Linked DNA regions of Homo sapiens: all the other regions are linked to region 1. Evidence: promoter capture Hi-C in 16 types of primary human blood cells and fetal thymus (Javierre and others, 2016). All regions are on one chromosome and are shown on one strand. The core of a region is centred on a gene start or on the middle of the fragment in contact, and the rest is flanking DNA. Distances in the headings are between cores, read along the strand shown. Region 1 holds the start of COMMD3 (COMM domain containing 3). Region 2 overlaps LOC107984215 (a long non-coding RNA gene). Region 3 overlaps ARMC3 (armadillo repeat containing 3). Region 4 overlaps ARMC3 (armadillo repeat containing 3).

Region 1 (4,765 bases), core at 1,067-3,566:
TCTGTATTTTGTTGTTTTCAGCTGCACATAATTGTTCTTTTAAAAGGCTTTTGGGAAGCCAAATTTAGTTTACTGGCTTTGAGCATGCAGAATTTTTTAAAGTTTAGTCAAAGTTCCAATGCTGTTTTGAGTAAAGCAAAATTTTAAACAGTATTTTCATACTTTCAGAATATGTTCATATGTAGTTTTTCTAACATAAAATGCATTGATCTTTATGGCTGTAACCAAGAGAGTCTACATCTGGGTAGTCATGCCTTTTGATGATCATACTTCCATGTATTTCAATGACTTGTCAAAGACACACGTTTGAAACACTCGATCCTGTGCCTCCTTCAAAGGAAGTTTAAATAAATATACCTGTAGTAGGAAAATTCCGTTTTTCTAGCATTAGAACACATTATGGTGAAAATTTTTGTGAGCTTAAAATGTGCCCATCACTTAGGCCTAACACATGAATATACTTAGGCCTAAGAGGAGGAAACATTCTAAGAGAAAGTACTTATACATGGGCAACAAAGTAATATGACAGCTATTATGGAAACAATCCTTCTGAATTTCCTAACTTTCATGCCCACAAATTGACAACCACTTGTGTTTATTTTTCTTTTAAAATAATATTTTAAAATCTATGTCCATGATTAATACTCTCTTTTTTGACACTAAATTGAGTATTAGAGTTATCAACTCAAATTCTATTAGAGTATTAATAATCAACGTTACACTAGGTCATAAAATACATGTGTAATAAACATAATAAGCTTGGGTGTTGTTAATATTGTTGAACATTTACACAACTCTGTCCTGACTATTCTCTATGTAATCAGGTATCATGAAGTTTTTCAACTGACATTTTACTACTAATGAGAAACAAATTAGGAAGATGAGTGATGGGAAGAAAAGATGAACATGATTAATAGGTGCTTGTTTCATAAAGACTCTAGGGAGACTTTTAAATCCTTCACTGCTACTATATTCTCACCGAGTGAGGAGCCACTGCACGTGCCTTTTAAAGCTTTCAAAGGAGGGCTGAGTAGTTACTCAATCTGTTACTGATGCTTACTCCATTTGCATCCTGTTGTGAAATGAGGTACACTTTATGTATTGGTGCCAAGGTAAATGTCAACTGTATCCATCAAAAATTTTTAAAACAGACATCTAAGTTAGAAAAAGAAAATAATGTTTCACTTTGGGTCTAATGTTGCAAATAATCGCTCCTGAAGACTAAAACATCTTTGTTGTTCCGCATCCCTTCCCTCCACCCTTCAAGAACTTGCATTTTTTAACTTTTCAAGTGCTTTTGATTAAAAATACCTAATCTACTTTGCTTCACGGGTTTTTTAAAGAATCATTCTTGTTCTCTAAACCAACTTCGTAGAAATAGAGAGGAAGTTAAACTTTATACAGTATTTGAATCTTTAAAGGTATGAGCATCCTAAACAGTAACTCACTTCTAATAAAGATCTTGCCATTCCTAACTGTACTTTACTAAGGTAGCTGTTTAATAAAAACGTATTTATGCAGATTCTATAGAGCAACTAAAACGGGACCCATAGATGTGGTGAGTAGCACAAAATGTGTATGGCAGTTGGCTTTATTTGCAGCGGCATATAAAATTGTTAATAATCCTGTCAAATCTGTTCATGAATAATTTATTAATCCGATTGCTGGAGTGCAGTGCATACAGGAACTCTATGTATGCGTGCATGTGTACACACCCCCCATGCAGGAAGGACACTACTGCCGTATTCCAGAAATGACAAAAAAAAAAAAGTAAAAATAAGCAAGAATCACATAATTAGATGTCTTACAGTCTCATAAAAGGGCAGTGCTGCGAGGTTAAGCTGGTGAGCTAAAAAACAAACAAAACAAACAAAAAACCACAAAAGCAAAATCCAGTTGCCTGAGATCGGAGCTTCCCGCAGGATTCGCGCAGAGCGAGGAGCGGGGAGGACGCCGTTTGCGGGAGGCGGGGGCCGGGATCCCGACACCGTCCGCAGTCTCCCCGGGGTCTCTCAGGGAACCGAGCTGGTGGCCGTCCGAGGTAAGCGCCGAACCAAGGAGAAAGCGCCGAGCGCGTCCACAAAACGCCCGAGGCCGCCCTTCTCGCCAAGGCTCGGCAGCTCCCGCGGCCTGCGCTGGACAAGCGAGAGCTGGACGGAAACGGTGGGAGGCCGTAGGCGGCGGCTGGGGGCGCGGGACCCGCGCGCGGGCGCGGAGGCGGGCGGGGAGGCCCCGCAGCCCGCGCCGCCGCCAGCCGCCCCGAGCCGCGTGCGCGCGCGGCCGCATCAGCTGAGCGCGCGGCGCGTGTCACGTGGTGTGCGTGTCGAAGGTCACGGCGCGCTCACAATGGAGCTCTCGGAGTCTGTGCAGAAAGGCTTCCAGATGCTGGCGGATCCCCGCTCCTTCGACTCCAACGCCTTCACGCTTCTCCTCCGGGCGGCATTCCAGAGTCTGCTGGACGCCCAGGCGGACGAGGCCGTGTTAGGTAAGCCGCTCGGCTCGGCTCGGAGCTGGATCCGCCGGGGTGGAGGGGCGCTCGGAGAAGAGGAGCCGGCGGAGCGAGAAGGGGAAAGCCCCGGGAAGAGGAAGTCTCCGGGCTTTGCCCTTCGCTCCGGACGGAGTGTTGGGGACGTGGCTCTGCCAGGACTCGGAGCAGACTCTGAGCATTGTTTTGGCCCCACTTGGCACCTGCATAGAGCCAACTCCACGTTCCTGGCCCGGTTTCCCTCCCAGTCTCTTTGTTCTTTTGTAAAGCCGGTGTTCAAGTCTTGTTTGTGGCCTAAACATCTAAGGTGTTTAGCCTTGTCTGAGGCTGCGGCTGTTTTGACAGTTGGACTTCATCTGGGGAGCTCCCTGCAATTCAAGCTTCCAGGGCTAGGCTAGCAAAGGTTTAAGGGTCTGTTTCCGAAGTAATTACTAGGTCAGACAGTGTTGACATTTGCCAACTTAGAGCATACCTCAAGTTGCTATGATCACTCCAGCGCTCTAGTTCAGCATGTTTACACAGGTTCTACGCCTAGAACCTTAAACTATGATGCACAATACTTTGTTCCGCCCCAGTTACCAGGATGCGAGTGTCTTTTAAGCGATCCGGTCAGTGACTGCGGAGGTGCAGTGTCAGTATGGATTGAAGACATATTTTAAGACCGATCGCTTTTAGATGATTTTCTTAAATATAAATATCCCAACAATTCAAATTTTTGTTTTTTTTCTGTAGTTTCATGAACTAAACACTTGTACAAAAAGTATGAAAGTGGAAGTTCTTAAACGAAAATAGTAACCACCACCTGGGTTAATCTCAAAAAAAAAATGACTGTCAAACCCTGAAAGTACTAATATAATTTTGAAATTTGTATCTTATATTCTGAACTCATGCCCTACCTTCTACCCCCTTGATGTATTTGTTCATGGAGCCGGTTACCCTAAACTCATCATTTTTAGGATGGAAGTTTATTCTAAAATTGACACAATGTAAAATATTTATCTTGTTTTTCCTTTGAATTTACTCCAGTGTTAGAATGACCATTGCATTGTTATATTTTCTTTGGGGGCTATAATATTTTTTAATAGTAAAAATATTAAGGCAAAATAAGTTAATTGAAGCTAGTAATAGTAGAGTTCTTGTTGTGTTCTTTTTATTGTTTTTCACTTGATCTTGTTGCTCATCTCATTTACTTATAATTGACTGTCCTTATAGTTGATGTTTTTAATCTTGTTAAAGGGTTTTTAAACCCAAATTAAAATATCCTTTTTGGAACATGACTGTAAAGAATTTATTATCATAGGCATCACTGGAAGTTAATTTATTTTAGATCATCCAGACTTGAAACATATCGACCCAGTGGTTTTAAAACATTGTCATGCAGCAGCTGCAACTTACATACTAGAGGCAGGAAAGCACCGAGCTGACAAGTCAACTCTAAGGTACAGGATTTATTTAAATATCCATTTATTTTCAAATACTACCTTAATGATTTCAATTTCAGTTTTAAAAATGGAGACAGAACTTTGGCTTTTTTTTTCTTTCTTCTAGCACTTATCTAGAAGACTGTAAATTTGACAGAGAGCGAATAGAACTGTTTTGCACGGAATATCAGGTTACTTACTTTAAAATTTTTAATTAACAGTACTATTTTTCTTTTACTTTGTTTGTAAAGATGTTTTTTTTTCTTTCTTTCTTGCTTTCTTTTTTCTCTCCAGAATAATAAGAATTCCCTAGAAATCCTACTGGGAAGGTAGGTACTGTATAAGGTGTCAAGCTGAGGCACTTTTCACTTGCAGGTATGAATGGAGAGTGTTGGTGTGAAACAAGATCTTCGGGATCTTGACCCAAAGAAAAGGAGCCAAAGGGCATGTCAAGCAATTGAAGTTAAGCTCATGTTTTTAAAGATCGTTTATTGAGATGATTTTGAAATGCTCCTTTACCATTCATAATTTAAAAATAAAGTTTAACAATGGTTTAAATTCAGAATGGATTAAAATGGAGTTGGGGGTGGAAAGTAGAGCCATTCTTAGTAAATATAAATAACTGAAAAGTTCTTCTGAGGAGACTATGTACGAAGTTATCATTGCATCTTTCAGTATAGGCAGATCTCTCCCTCATATAACGGATGTTTCTTGGCGCTTGGAATATCAGATAAAGGTAAAGTTTAAGAAACTTCTCTAGCGGGGGATTTAGGGAACTTCTTAAAACCTAGAGTTAAAAGCTGTTGCGTGTTTGTTGTGTTATTTTAGACCAATCAACTTCATAGGATGTACAGACCTG
Region 2 (4,765 bases), core at 950-3,449, 770 kb after region 1:
TTTCTTTACATGCTTCTGTTTTCTAATTTATCTAAAATGAAATTTTGTTAAATGTAAAAAGTCACTTGAAGAGAAAAGTACAAAAGAAGTATCTTTTCACCAAACAATCCTAACCTCTTCCAAAATGGTATGCCTCAGTAGAGATTGGTTCCATGTGCATGCTTTTACCCACTTTTACTGTCAAGTATGAACTATTTTGTATTCTACTTTTTTCTCCTTGACATTATTTCATGCAGACCATTCCATAAATCCAGGTAGTCTTCATATTTGACATTTTAATGGCTATATAATGTTTCATTGTATTGCTATGTCAAGATTTACTTAGTCATTTCCTGGCTGTTAATGACTCTGGATTCATCTGCCATTATGAAAAGCATAACTGTAAACTTCTCTGCAAAACTGGAGCTTTCTTTACTATTGATTTTTTCCCTTGGGATTTGCTCCACAAAGCCAATTTGCCAAATTGTCATCTTTAGTACATGTTGTCAGATTTCTTTCCAGAAAAAGTATGACCCTATTTCTACAGACAGTGTATGAGTTCTTAAAGCTCTGGTAGCTTTAATTCCAAAAAAACACTATTATTAATAATTTAATATGCATGAGGCAATATATTAGGCCATTTTAATTTTTAATTCTTTAATTATTATGGAAGCCAAACATTTTCCCAAGTGTTTGTTCACTATTTGTATTTTTCCTTGTGCAAACCATCTGTTCATATTCTTTAACCATCTGTCCAGTCAGACCTGAAATTGGCCATATAGATAATATTAATTTCCCTAATATATATAATGTTAAATGTTTACTGTTATGTGTATTACAATACTCTCGTATTTTTATCATTTTAATTTTTCTAATTTGAGAGTAATCATTTTTTGTTCTTCATCTTGTGGTATGTATGTATGTACTTAAATTTCATTCACTTGAACCTGTCAACCTTATCATTTGTTCAGTGCTAACTCCTTTTATTGCTTTTATTGTCCAAAAATTATTTTTATTTCAAAATGGATGTATGCAGTATTGTTTTATTTCGTGTGTGTGTGTGTGTGTGTGTTTGTGTATGTGTGGTAGGGAAGTTTAAACTTTCCCTCTGAAGTGAGACTGCTGAAATAAACTGACAATAGAGTAGCAGAAGAAAAAGCATACAAATGTATTAAAGTGCACATGGTCACAAGACCCCCACAAATATGAGACTCAAAGAAAGGCCAAATTGTTGAAACTTATATATCTTCTTCATAGGGAAGAGGGCGATGGCGGAAACTTAGGCAATTTTGAGGGATTGTAAATAATTTTCAGGAAAATTGAATAGGCCCAAAGAGCAGACAGTAGTTTTTGAATTATTCTTTTCGGAAGAAGAATGGGACCCACAGTTATGGGAAGGTGAGGGGCAGAACTGTACTGTGAACAAAGGTTGTCCTATTATGCATTTAATTTTTATTTAAATAGTAAATATTTAAATAATCTTAAATAAATCTTAAATAATAAAGTAATCTCTCAGAGGTGCCATCAGAAGAACAGATAAAAAGTGTTTCAGGGCATAGTGATGACTTTTAGTCTTTCCTCTTCTCCAGTAGTTAATCTTTCCTGGTTATCTGATAAGATTCCTAGTAAAGAGATCTTAAGACAACTGCACTTCTTTTGGAAGACTCAGTGGGAGAAAGCCCTTCTCTTCACTTGTGGGGAAGAAATAAAAAGTTAGAAAGTCGTTGTTTCTGAGGCAGCTTCTAAAGCTTTCCAATTTCATTTAATTCAAAAATGCTCAGCATACCAGAGCACCATACTTGGGGGGTATTGTACTCTGAGCTCTGACATGATACACATATCCACATACTACTTTTAACTCAAAAAATAATTCTTTTGAAGTGAATTATTCATCTAAGCCTTAGACGCCAAGGTTACTTCCCCTGTATTGATAGTCACTTTCCCACAAAAAATATACTGAATAATTTTATATCCCCTTGTTTCTAATAGGTTAAATATGTATTAATTTCTGGAACCTCTTATCTCTCTGGACTATTTTTTGGTTATTATTTCAATCAGAACACTGTTTTCATATCTACTCTTCCTTGATAAGCACTTTTAACATGTGAGAGGCTACTTCTCCAATATTATCTTTAACATAAAAGTCTATTTTTATCCACATTTATTTCAGTTGTTATTTTTTCAATTCCTGTAAAGTAATCCATTGGGATTATAAGTGACATAGCTTAAATCTATAAGTTGAATGTATTTTAACCTTCGTAATTTCAGCTCTTTGGTCAGCAAGTGTATCTTTCCATTTTTCACCACCCGTCATATAATTACAGACTGAAGAGAGTTGAGATATAATTTGAGTTCTAGTTCTAGGCCACCCTCCCCTGTATTCGTGTCATTTTCCAGATAATCAAACCAAGGCCCAGAGACTGGTTTGTCCAAAACATCTGTATCTGCTTAGGAGAACACCTAGAAATTGAACCCAGAGCTTATCCCATGCTATTTTTTTCTATCGAACCATTTATTTAAGTCTTCATTCACTGCCTTTAGAGCTTTAAAACTATATTTTATATATATTAGATGTTCCAGTTGGTTAGTTTCTAGGAATTCTCTAGATTGAGGTAAAACAAAAATGAGTATCGACATTGAACTTTGGGCAGATGGAAGCAGATAAAGTATTTTCAGTGCAGATTAATTGTGTAAAGCTTATTCCAGTCCCTCATTCTTTCCCAAATGGTTTTTGGTAGGGAAAAGCAAATTGGCTTTTGCACTTATCTCCCATTTTTTGGTCATTCTATCCTATCTTTTAGGGATTTTATTATCAAATTTATAGTTTGCAGAGAAGTGTGTTGGATATACAAAGAGTCAAAGTTATAGAATTTTGCCTTTCCTGAAGATTCTCACAATCAAATTCAGGACATCAGATATACACTGTGTCAACTTCATGAAACAGAAAATCCCAGTAACAGTGATTTAAACAAAATATAGATTTATTGGTCTCTCATGTAATTGGAAATCTGAAGGCAGGCAATCCAAGACTAGCATATTGACTCCACACTGTCTTCAGAATCCTGGGCTCCTTCATGTCTTCTACTTCTTTAAAATCAAGATGTGGGTCTCATCTTCATGTATACCAGAAGATTGCCAGTGCTCCAGCCATCATGACTAATTTCCAAGCAGAAACAAAAGACAGAGCAAAAGTCCAGTGCTGAGCCAGCTCCTCTTTAACTAGTTTTCCTGGTAGCTCCCAGTGATGTCTGCTCCTATCATTGCCCATAACAGCATCATATGATTGCCACCAACTACAAGGGAGCTGACAGATGTAACATTTTAGCTAGGCATATTGCTACTCTTAATAAAATCAAAGATCTGTTTGTAAGTAGAGAGAGTGGATATCGGCCAGGCAAATGATAGTCTCTACCACTCAGTGTACAAAGTAAAAGGGAAAACATAAAGTAGAGTTTTGTTCAGGCTAAGACCATGTGTCCAAGAATGTGAGGTTAATGCATGGCCTTGATGGTTAAGTTGGATTCAGATAAATGGTGGTGAGAAGAGGGGACATTTTAAGACCAGTAAGGGCTTGATCACAGATGAGGTAAAGGTCCTCCTAGCAGGTGTAAAGGAGAATGGTGGTAGGGAGGGAGGGACTTCCTCTGTGCTTAGAATGTCTTTCTGGGAGTGTGAGGATATGTAGAAATGCAAGGATAGATTGGTTATCAGCTCTGTTTACCAATTACCGTTGTCCTCATTAAATCTTCAATAACAACTAACGTTTATTAAAACCAAGTATGTACCAAAGGGTTTGCTAGGTGTTTTAACGTATGTTGTATCTAATCCTTACAATAACCCCATTTTGGGGATAAGAAAACTGATCTGTCACAGGTTGAATACTTGATCAAGCTCATGCGTCTTTTAAATTTAAGATATTCTGACTTGAATGTGTTTTACACCAGACTCCATGATTTTTTTCCCACAATGTCACAATGTTAAGTTAATTTATTAACTTTGCTTGGGATTGGGGGTGAAGGTGGGTGAGTTAAACCGGTATTCCTTGATATTTTCTAAATTCTAAACTTTAGGGGAACTTTACAAACTCTTCAACTAACTAGCAGTGTGATCATAGACAAGGTACTTATCCTCTCTGGATTTGAATTTGTTTACTTATTACTCAGATACAAAACCAGACAGATACTATAAGAGAGGAAGCTTTCAGTCCAACATCCTTCATCAACACAGACACAAAAATTCTAAAAAAATGTAATCCATGATACATAGAACATAATCCAACAATACATGAAACAAATAATAAAACTGACAAAGCAGGCTTTATTGAAGAAATACTAAGTTGGTTTAACGTTTGAAAATCAAGTAACAAACTACAAAAAGAAAATAGGAAAAAGGTATGATTATATCAGTAGCTGCAGAAAAGCATTTGACAAAAATCCAACATCCCTTCCTGATAAAAACTCTCAGTAGACTACAAATAGAAATTTCCTTAATCTGATAGAAAATTTATGAAAAACTTATAGCTAATATCATACTTAATGGTAAAAGGCTGAATACTTTTCCTCTAAGATCAGGAACAAGACAAGGATGTTCACTCTCAACATTTCTATTCAACACTGCGCAGGCTCTAACCAGTGCAATAAGGCAAGAAAAAGAAATCAAAGACATCTGTATTAAAAAGAAAGAGTAAAACTCTTTCTACACAGATGACATGATTTTTCTATGTAGAAAATCTGATAAAATCCATAAAATGTTACTAGAACTAAGAAATGAGTTTAGAAAGATTACA
Region 3 (4,765 bases), core at 1,096-3,595, 680 kb after region 1:
GGTGTAGGAGATTTTGCTGTTTAGCTAAAAATTGTCTGAAAATGAAATTTTCATGCACACACACAAGTTTTACAATATGATCTTACGTTTCCATGATCTGAAACTCTCTACCCTTGTGGCTCACTGAATGTTAAGAGGATGATGATGTTGTTGAAAGCTAGCAGTTATCGGCCAGGTATTAAGCTAAGTCCTTGAGTGGAATATATCATTAAATCCCAGAGCAGTCCTATGGGGGAAGGAATATTATTGTCATGCCCATTTTGCAGATGAGGAAACCAAGGCCCGGTGCTTACTCACAGTCACAGAGGTGGTCTGTTCTGTAGGTCCCCAGGGAGCTGGTAGGAGCTGAACCTCTTACTCTCCACCCCGGCAACTTTTCTCTCATTCTTTCCTCATCAGTGCCTCCAGGACCCTTAACTTCTCCACATTTTCCCCACCAGAAATTTCCCTTGTGCTGAAATTCATGATCTCTTTGAATTCCTCCAGCACTCCTTGTACTCACTCCAGTAGGCACCTTGAAATCATCTTTCATCCCTTCCTTTCCCTTTCTCTTTGCTTCTGACCCTCCCTCCACCTTTTTCCCCGGGTTCCTTTCCCTAGTCTCCCTTCTCCCCCTCTCTGCTTCCTCTGCCTCCTCCTCTCTGCTTCCTCTGCCTCCTCCTCCTTCTCATTTTCCATTCCCTAAGGAATGATGTCCTAAAGCAAGTAAATTCTTTTGGTTTTTGTTTTCCTGAAAATACTATACTTTTTAAAGCTTAAGAGGTTGAAAAATGTAAAAACTAATAAATTAAAGGTCAGAAAACCATGTGTTTGTTTTTCCGGTCTCTGTTGATTAACTTACCTTTGAGCAAGTTTTAGTCTCTCTGCATCCTGTCTTTTTTGACTATGAAACAAACAAGTAAAAATGAATCTATATAATCTACTGTATTTTGTGCATGTAAGAGATTACCCCCTAGCCAGTATCACAGGGAGTCTGGAATCCAGCTTCTTCCACTGGGGGCCGGATGTGATCCGTCGGTACAGCTGTTATCATTTCACCCCAAAATACAGGGAACTTACCACCTTGACTGTAGGTTTTTTTTTGTTTTTTCTTTTTTGTTTTGTTTTAGGTTTTTTTTTTGGTAATGATTCTACCATTATCTGGGTATCCTTTACCTGCTGGGCACTGTGCTAGGCTCTTGGGGTACCACAGGAAAGGAACACATCAGGCCTACATTTCAGTCAGGGAGGCCAGCAGTACACAAGTAATTTTAAAATGGTAATTGCAGAATTGTTACAGTATAGGTAAACTTCAAACAGCACAATGTGGAAAGAGGGCCATGGCCCCGGGGTTAGGAAGGGGCCTAGAGAATGATACAGGGCTTGTTAAGGAAGGGCTCTCTGAAAAAGTGACATCTGAGCTGCTGAGAATAAACCAGTCCTGGCAAGCGCAGGGATTTTTTTTTGTTTGCTGTGGCACTAGAGCATTCAGCATCCTTATTATTTAGTTAAGAAAATCAACAACATGGTATCTCTAATTACTTTGGGATTGTATCCCTTGTCATTGACAGATATGTAAATACGCTGATTTCCAGGCTAAACAGAAACATTTGGTAGCTGCAAAAGTCATTTATTATGAATATCCTAACTCCTTGACCATCATTTCTATTTTATTAGGAGACAAGTCAGCCATGCAAAAGAGAGTTGTTTTTTGCTGATGGCAGGTAGTTAATTATGAGTAGGGCATTCTAGCATTTGAAACAAGGTAGCATGTATGGAAGTGAAGTATTGTGATTGAACAGATAGGTCAATAAAGGCTCTGTGTCACTTGGGAGGAAATTACATTTGATTTCCCCAGACTTTGATTGACTGCCTCAAAATCGGTAGCAAAAACATGCATGCTCTTTGTGGAAGTGCTGGGGTAGCACTCACTATTCTCTTTGCAGTCATGCTGTTCTCTTTGAGAGAGCATAATGTCACCGCGGCTGCAACATCAAAGAGAATTCTGAAAGTCTCAAAATGAAACCTGCTAAGGTGCATCAATATGATGTAATCAATTCGGTTTCACATATTTCCTAGCATTTTGCGGGGGGCATTTTTCTTATTTTGCTATAGATGCAAACACATTTTTTTCCCTGTGGCTAGGCTTTACTTTAATTATGTTAATTTTAAAACCTTCATTTTAAGCATAAGCCTACAATTAATTGGTTGTCTCCCTTAATTGTGAAAAACTTCTTAAATAATATTTCTTTAAAAGAAGAACATTCTCTTGGCTAGTTTTGTCAACCTGGAGTTCAGCCAGAGTTTAGGGGCACATATACTAGCGTCCTGTAGCTGTGGGGCTGTGGCGGGATGATCCTTGTTCTGGACTCAGAAATTGACCAATTTAGCAAACACACTCCACTTCTTGGATCATTACCTTTGTTGAGAAACTGGCTGGAACAAGAGTCAGGAATTCTGTTTACAGCATTCCAAATCTGGCTGTGATAACCAGGAGACCTGTTTATCATAACGGCCAGTGTTCCACCTGTTCAGACTTCCTGCAGCCGGCAAGGCTTAAAAATGCCAGCTCTGAGTTGCTGCTGCGTACACACCGCCCCTGACCACTTGCAGAGTGTCTGCCGCCAATATGTCTTCCTTGGTGTGACAAAACTCACGGAGACATGAAAAGTCATGCTGGTGGGAATGGTTGTAATCACTGTTAACAAACAAGGTTCTTATTGCCAATATCACCATCTGTTCCATCGGGTTCCACATATTACCCTGTATGTGGGCTCTGTTAAACAGATTTCTGTTCTGCCCAAGGTCACCCTTGATTCATGTTACTAGACTTTGCAGTTGGGTTGAATGTGAACCTCAAATTGAAGCAAGGATTCAACTCTGAAAGGTACCAAATGGTGTCAACTGGTGCACACTAAAATAAACAGAGTCAACAATGTCTGCAAAGACAAAATAGAGACATCCCTTGATAAAAGAGAAGAATATATTCCCAAGAAGTTGTCTAAAGTGTAAAATTTTATTTCTTGAATACCATCTAAAAATTACCTCACTGTATAATTGGAGAAGCATGAGGGCAGGGAGGAAATGAACCAATTTCAAGAGCAGCTGTAAGTGATAAAACTGGAAATCGCAGTGTTGCTGGATCCTATCCCTTCTTGCAAACTTAAAGCTGAGCTAAGCACTTTCCCCCTCCCTTCTTCTTGATACCTGCAGCGAATTTCTGCTCACTCACCTTGAGTTGATTCGAGTCAATTAAAATACATTGATCTTCTCAGCACCGGAAATATAAATAAGACTCAAATATTACCTCTAAGAGGTAAGTACCAGGTACAGACATAGCACAGCAGAGGGAGTGATTAACAAGGAGGGCCGTGATGGTCACAGATGACTTTGCAGAGGAAGGGACAGGTAAGCAGAGAGTGAAGAATGAGCTAGTGTTCTCCAGCCACAAGTGCCAGAGGGATAGGGAAGGGTGTTTGGGACAAAGGGACCACAAGTGCAAAGACACAGACATGAAATCGCACAATATTTTTAGTGAGCCATAGACGCTATTTGTGTTTGAATTTTTCCTCAGTGATGTTCTTAGCATCCTTTCTGTAAGTGCTCTTTTATTGTGGGGCTTGGGCATTTGAATGAAAAATCTGCTGAATTCCATTCATGAGTGCTGCAAAATAACATTTTTAAATTGTTACTTTTTTCTGATGTAAACATTTATGCCAGAACATCATATTTTTAAACAAAAAGAAATGTGTATATTTAGCACACAAATGCTCTGAGCTCATGTTAAAAAGAAATCTCCTTTGGGGATCCAGAAGTGCCTCCTTGAGGAAAAGACATTTGTGCTGAGCTGTGAAAGAGGGCTGGGCATTGTCCTGGGGGAAGAGGATGTCAGGAAATGGGAAGAGCGCAGGGGAGCCCTGATGTGGGAAAGAGCCTGGCATATTGAAGGCTGCAAGAGAAGCTTAGAGCACGGAGCAACAGGAAGAGGCGGCGAGGGGCTGGGGGTGCATGGGGCTGGCGTGAGAAGTGGGGGCCGCTTGTGTAAGGCCTTGGAGGCCATGTCAGAAATTTGGGGGTAGGCCAGGCATGGCGGCTCACTCCTGTAATTCCAGCACTTTGGGAGGCCGAGGTGGCAGGATTGCTTGAGGCCAGAAGTTTGGGACTAGCCTGGGCAACGTAGCAAGACTCCATCTCTAGAAAAATAATTTAAAAATATAACAAAAAAGAAAAAGAAAAAATTGGGAACTTTATCCTAAGCAATGGGAAACCGTGAAAGTTTTAAGTAGGGGAGCAATATGATTATAATTTTAAAACATCACTTTAGCTGTAAGACGGAGGAAGGACTGGAGGGGGTGAGGAGAGACCTCTTAGGAGATTATTTATATCAACCCACAAGAGAGGATGCTGAATTGGATTCTGTGGGAGGATGGAGAGAAGGGAGAGATTTGAGAAATATGGAGGAGGAAAATAGTCAGGACTTGCTAATAGATTGACGTCACATGACATGTCAAGCTTCACCTCTGTTTACATATATCAAATGATATAAACAGATGTTTTCATACATTCCCATATTTGTTTTTTAGTTTGTTTTTTTCCCAATTTACATTTTAAACTCTTACTTGATTAAACTCCAACTGGATGGAGACTAATGATAGTAAATATCAGAAAATATTTTCAAATTATTGTGATGACATATGGCCCTATAATTCTGGATTTTAAAACAAAGCAGTTTGACTTCCATCCCATTCATTTGGATAATGCTATACTATTTGGGAAACCAAAATAA
Region 4 (4,765 bases), core at 812-3,311, 650 kb after region 1:
TTGTCTCAATTTTGATTAGTACTAATCAACACTAGAGCATTTGTCTGCTTTTAAAAAACCATTTGAGAATAGTGCTATATTTACTACTTAAGTCCAAACTCATCTCACTTCCAATGAGTTAGAGATTTGTCAGGGATATGAAGAACTCAATATGATTTCATTATCCTATTTTTCAAAATACAATTCATTTCTACATTAAGTTTTAAGCCTTTGTTTCACTTGAATTTGGAATTATATAGAAGGTATGCATTGTTTGTGAACCTGAGAGCATTGAAGAAATCCACATTCACAATGATATCTATAAAGTAATTTTCAAGTTTCAGCTGGAGTCTAGTAGCACCATGTTACATAGCTGTGAAAAATATGCTCATACTATATACATAATACAATTTGCATTTCAGTGACAAGTTATGTTGATATAAATCTGTAAAATATGAGAGATTAATTACAGCACAAGCACAGATGAAATTATAGTTTTAATTTATGTATATTTGGAGTCTTTTATCTAATAAAAGATGTGATCTTATTTTTCCCCTTCTGCACCACTTTTAGAAATGATGACAGCATTGACTATTTTAAGTGATTTATATTCTAAACATATATACTCACATCTGTATATTGATATGTATACTATGGGAAACACTCCATTTTCAGCACACACTGGATTTCTTCAGGACAAAGCTTTAATGCAGTAAGCAAGATTTCACCATCCAGTATGTAGTGTGCATAGAGGGGCCTCATGAGTTACATTATAAATGCCTATTTGAGAGACTGGTTGTGAAATCAAGGTTTCTTCATATTGGCAAAAGTTGGTTTACCCAGTATTCTATCAAATGGAACTTAGACATTATTCTAGCTGGTCAGTTCTCTCTTCCTTCTATCCTAGTTCTTCTTAGCTAAGTGAGACCCGAAGAGAAGTAAAATGGGGAGACACGGACAATGCCAAACCTGAAATGTTTGCGTATCTCAGCATCTCTTTGGAGAGTATTTATATGTATCAAATGTGGCTGGGTCATTCTAAGACTGTTCTCACTCATTTTGAGGTGGTGAGTTTGATGATGCCTACCCATCATGTGCCACAGTACTGGAAAGTATGCTGCAGAGTTCCTGGTACTAGAGTTCTAGTACTAGTTCCACTACTGGCATTGTAACGACCTACTTAAGTGATTTTGAGTGAACTATAACTTCTCCAGAACAATGTATATATTCGTTTACTCATGATTTCTTACTGAGTTCTCACCCAGAACAGGAAAGTAAACAGGCACTTACAATGCAGTGTTCAAAGTGATTAATGATGGAAACACAGGATCACCCAGGAAGGCTCCCAGCACAGACCTGGATCAGAAAAATATTTCTGAAATCAGTGATTAACAAGCTAGGACCTAGAGTAAATAAGATAAATTGTCTGGTCAAAGAAGGTTCAGATGGGATGGAGGAGGAGAAGTGGTTCTGAGAAGGAACAGGGTGTATAAAAGCCAGAGGAGGGATAACATGGTAAGTTCCAGAACCGAAAGTTTTCAGAATGGCCAATGACCAGAAAGCCACAGAACACTGAGCGCTCAGGCTATGGACGTGGTGAGGAGCCCAGTGCTCATGGACATTATAAGCCCAGTTAAGGATTTTGGACTTTATTTTAATGGCAACAAAGAGCCATTGAAGTTACTCAGAAGGGAGGGAACATCATGGATTTTCACTTGTTAAAGAAAGAGAACTCGTGTTGCAAAGTGGAGAAGAGATTGGAAATGTTTAGGACCAGACACAGAAGACCAAAAGGGGGTTGCTGTAGTAATCTAGGTGAGATGTGAAGGTGCCCTGAAACAGAGATGCGGTGTTCAGGACTGGCTCAAGGCACTTTGCAAGGAGAACCACCAGCACATGTGTGAGTATTTTTGAATGACTATGTTGGTTGAAAGAGGAAGAAGGCGATACCAAGGATGAGGCCAGGTTTCTGGCTTAGACAGCTAGAAGTAAAATGGTGCCACTCACAGAACTGAAGAACTCAAGAAGGGGAGCGGTTTTGCTTGAAGAAAAGGAATCAATCCTATTCTTGCTTTTTAAATTGTGGTGAAATACAAATACTATGAAATTTACCGTCTTCATCATTTTTAAGTGTACATTTCAGTGGCATTAAATGTATTCACATTTTTGTGGTGCTGTCCATCCACAGAAATCTTTTCATTTAGCAAAACTAAAAGTATACCAATTAAACAATCATTCCCACTCCTTCCTCATACAAACTCCTGGCAACCACTATTCTTTGTCTCTATGAATTTGATGACTCTAGATCCCTCATATATATGGAATCATACAGCATTTGTCCTTTTGCAAATGCATAGCACTTGGCACGATGTCCTTAAGTTTCATTCATGTTGTAGCATGTGTCACAATTTCCTCCCTTCTTAGGGCCAAAGAATATCCATTGCCTGTATAGACCACATTTTGTTTATCCTTTCAACCATGGATGGACAGTTGGTTACATCTGCCTTTTGGTTAATGTGAATAATGTTGCTAAGAATGTGGGTATACAGATATCTCTTTGAGTCCCTGATTTCAATTATTTTGGATATATACCTAGAAGTGGAGTTACTGAATCATATGGTAATTATATTTTTAGTTTTTTTTTTTTTTTTTTTGAGACAGTCTCGCTCCATCACCCAGGCTGGAGTGCAGTGGTGTGATCTCAGCTCACTGCAACCTCCACCTCCTGGCTTCCAGCGATTCTCCTGCCTCAGCCTCCTGAGTAGCTGGGACTACAGGCACGCACCACCACACCCAGCTAATTTTTGTATTTGTAGTAGAGACATGATTTCACCATGTTAGCCAAGCTGGTCTTGAACTCCTGACCTCAGGCAATCTTCCCAACTCAGCCTCTCAAAGTGCTGGGATTACAGGTGTGAGCCACCATGCCCGTCCTCTATTTTTAATTTTTTTGAGAAACTGCCATATTGTTTTCTGTAGCAGCTGTACCATTTTACATTCCCATAACCAATGCACAAGAGTTCCAATTTCTCCACATCCTGGCCCACACTTGCTATTTTCTGTTTGTTGATAGTAGCCATCCTAATGGGCGTGAGGTGCTATCTCATTGTACTTTTTATTTGCATGCCCTAATGATTAGCAACTTCAAGCATCTTTATCGTGTACTTACTGGCCACTTGCATATCTTCTTTGGAGACATCTATTCAAGTCCTTCTCCCATTTTTTGATTGGGTTGTTTTCTTGATGCTAAGTTACAGAAGTTCTTTATATATTCTGGATATTAACCCCTTATCAGATATTATTTGAAAACAGTTTCTCCCATTCTGTGGTTTGCCTTTTTACTCTGTTGATTGTGTGCTTTGATGCAAAAAGTTTTAAATTGTGGTGCATTCCAATTTATCTATTTTGTTGGCTATGCTGTTTGCTGTTGGTGTCATATCCAATAACTCATTACCAAATATCAAAGCTTTTGCCCTATGTTTTCTTCTAGGAGTTTTGTAGCTGTAGCTCTTATATTTAGGTCTTGATCCATTTTGAGTTTATTTTTATATAGGGTATAAAATTATGGTCCCAGTTCGTTCTTTTTCATGTAGACATAAATTTTTCCTAGCATCATTTGTTGAAATTGGTTATTTGTAATAGAAAGGAATTCAAGCAGATAGTCTTTAAATCCTTTCTGGCACTTAATGTTTTCTGATTCTACTTCCTTTTGTTAGTTCTAAAATAACTACATTCCAGTTTCAAGTTGTGTCTCCTGTCTTTATGTTAGAATCTAATGACTAACTGTATTTACTTCATATATGTCATCTGTGATTGTATTATGTTCCCTTCAAACATCACTTTTTCAGACCGAAGAATTCAGATCTTGTTTAGTCTCTCTCCACGCATGTCCCCAGGCCATCCTGGGATCATTTTCTTACCTCTTCAGGACTTCCTCTTGTTTATTATACCCTCCTTGAAATGTGTTGATAAGTATTACGAAAGCTATTTTAAAAGTATGCACCATCATTTTATATTATCTATAGATAGGTTGATTTATCATTATTTTCCATTTCAGTCTTATGCAGCAAGTATTTTAGTCTCTTAACTACATTAGCATATTGGGCCAACCCTTTGAGGGAAGGACCTGCAGGGAGCCCCCAGATCATCTTTCTCAGTCAGTACCCAGAGCTCAAAGTTCCTCATTTTAATTTGTAACATTTTGGGGCTGGGCACAGTGGCTCACACCTGTAATCCTAGCACTTTGGGAGGTTGAGGTGGGAAGATCACTTGACACCAGGAGTTCAAGACCAGCCTGGTCAACAGAGCAAGACCCCCCATCTCTACATAAAATTTTTTTTAAATGAGCCATGCGTGATGTTGTGCACCTGTAGTCCCAGCTACTTGGGAGGCTGAGGAAGGAAGATCACTTGAGCCCAGGAGTTTGAGGCTGCAGTGAGATGTGATCATCCCAGTGCACTCCAGCCTGGGTAACTGAGCAAGACCCTTAATAATAATAATAATAATAATAATAATAATAATAATAATAAATCCTAACATCTTTGATTTATAGTTAAAAATGCAAACTTTGCTTTGGACTAGTATTGCATATTCTTTGAGGCCTGGTATAGGATCTATTTGTACAAGTGTTCTATTAAATCTTGGAAAGGCATACTCTGCTTACTATTTAAATAAACACTTATCATATGCAATTCATTTCTATATTAAGGATATTAAGATAAGGATAAACAATGGATGGAATGAATAAATATTTTCTGAATAGACAAAAAGATATATTTCCTGTAGA

Evidence for each region. The method cuts DNA at HindIII sites, captures the fragments that hold promoters and counts their contacts. A CHiCAGO score of 5 or more calls a contact.
Region 2: a contact is called between a fragment that was not itself captured here and the fragment with the promoter of COMMD3 in region 1, in 1 of 17 cell types (activated CD4 T cells). The highest score is 5.5, in activated CD4 T cells.
Region 3: a contact is called between a fragment that was not itself captured here and the fragment with the promoter of COMMD3 in region 1, in 9 of 17 cell types (fetal thymus, activated CD4 T cells, non-activated CD4 T cells and 6 more). The highest score is 11.0, in fetal thymus.
Region 4: a fragment that was not itself captured here is called in contact with the fragment with the promoter of COMMD3 in region 1 in 2 of 17 cell types (M1 macrophages and M2 macrophages); the score reaches 5.8 in M1 macrophages.

What each region holds. Positions count from the first base shown.
Region 1 is chr10:22,314,072-22,318,836 of GRCh38, forward strand. COMMD3 (COMM domain containing 3) reads left to right here and starts at 2,317. Exons shown (of 8, transcript NM_012071.4): 1 at 2,317-2,485; 2 at 3,813-3,924; 3 at 4,034-4,097; 4 at 4,201-4,235; 5 at 4,582-4,642; 6 at 4,735-4,765. The coding sequence starts at 2,347. COMMD3-BMI1 (COMMD3-BMI1 readthrough) reads left to right here and starts at 2,317. Exons shown (of 14, transcript NM_001204062.2): 1 at 2,317-2,485; 2 at 3,813-3,924; 3 at 4,034-4,097; 4 at 4,201-4,235. The coding sequence starts at 2,347. RefSeq lists a silencer at 2,175-2,294 and an enhancer at 2,565-2,864. The HindIII fragment of the contact is 1,853 bases long and covers 1,011-2,863 here.
Region 2 is chr10:23,088,481-23,093,245 of GRCh38, forward strand. The region is part of intron 1 of LOC107984215 (a long non-coding RNA gene); the gene reads right to left. Among named protein-coding and RNA genes, the nearest start is that of MSRB2, 4.7 kb to the right of the region's middle. The HindIII fragment of the contact is 948 bases long and covers 1,726-2,673 here.
Region 3 is chr10:22,990,359-22,995,123 of GRCh38, forward strand. All of the region lies in intron 10 of ARMC3 (armadillo repeat containing 3), which reads left to right. Among named protein-coding and RNA genes, the nearest start is that of ARMC3, 65 kb to the left of the region's middle. The HindIII fragment of the contact is 3,186 bases long and covers 753-3,938 here.
Region 4 is chr10:22,968,828-22,973,592 of GRCh38, forward strand. All of the region lies in intron 8 of ARMC3 (armadillo repeat containing 3), which reads left to right. Among named protein-coding and RNA genes, the nearest start is that of ARMC3, 43 kb to the left of the region's middle. The HindIII fragment of the contact is 2,764 bases long and covers 680-3,443 here.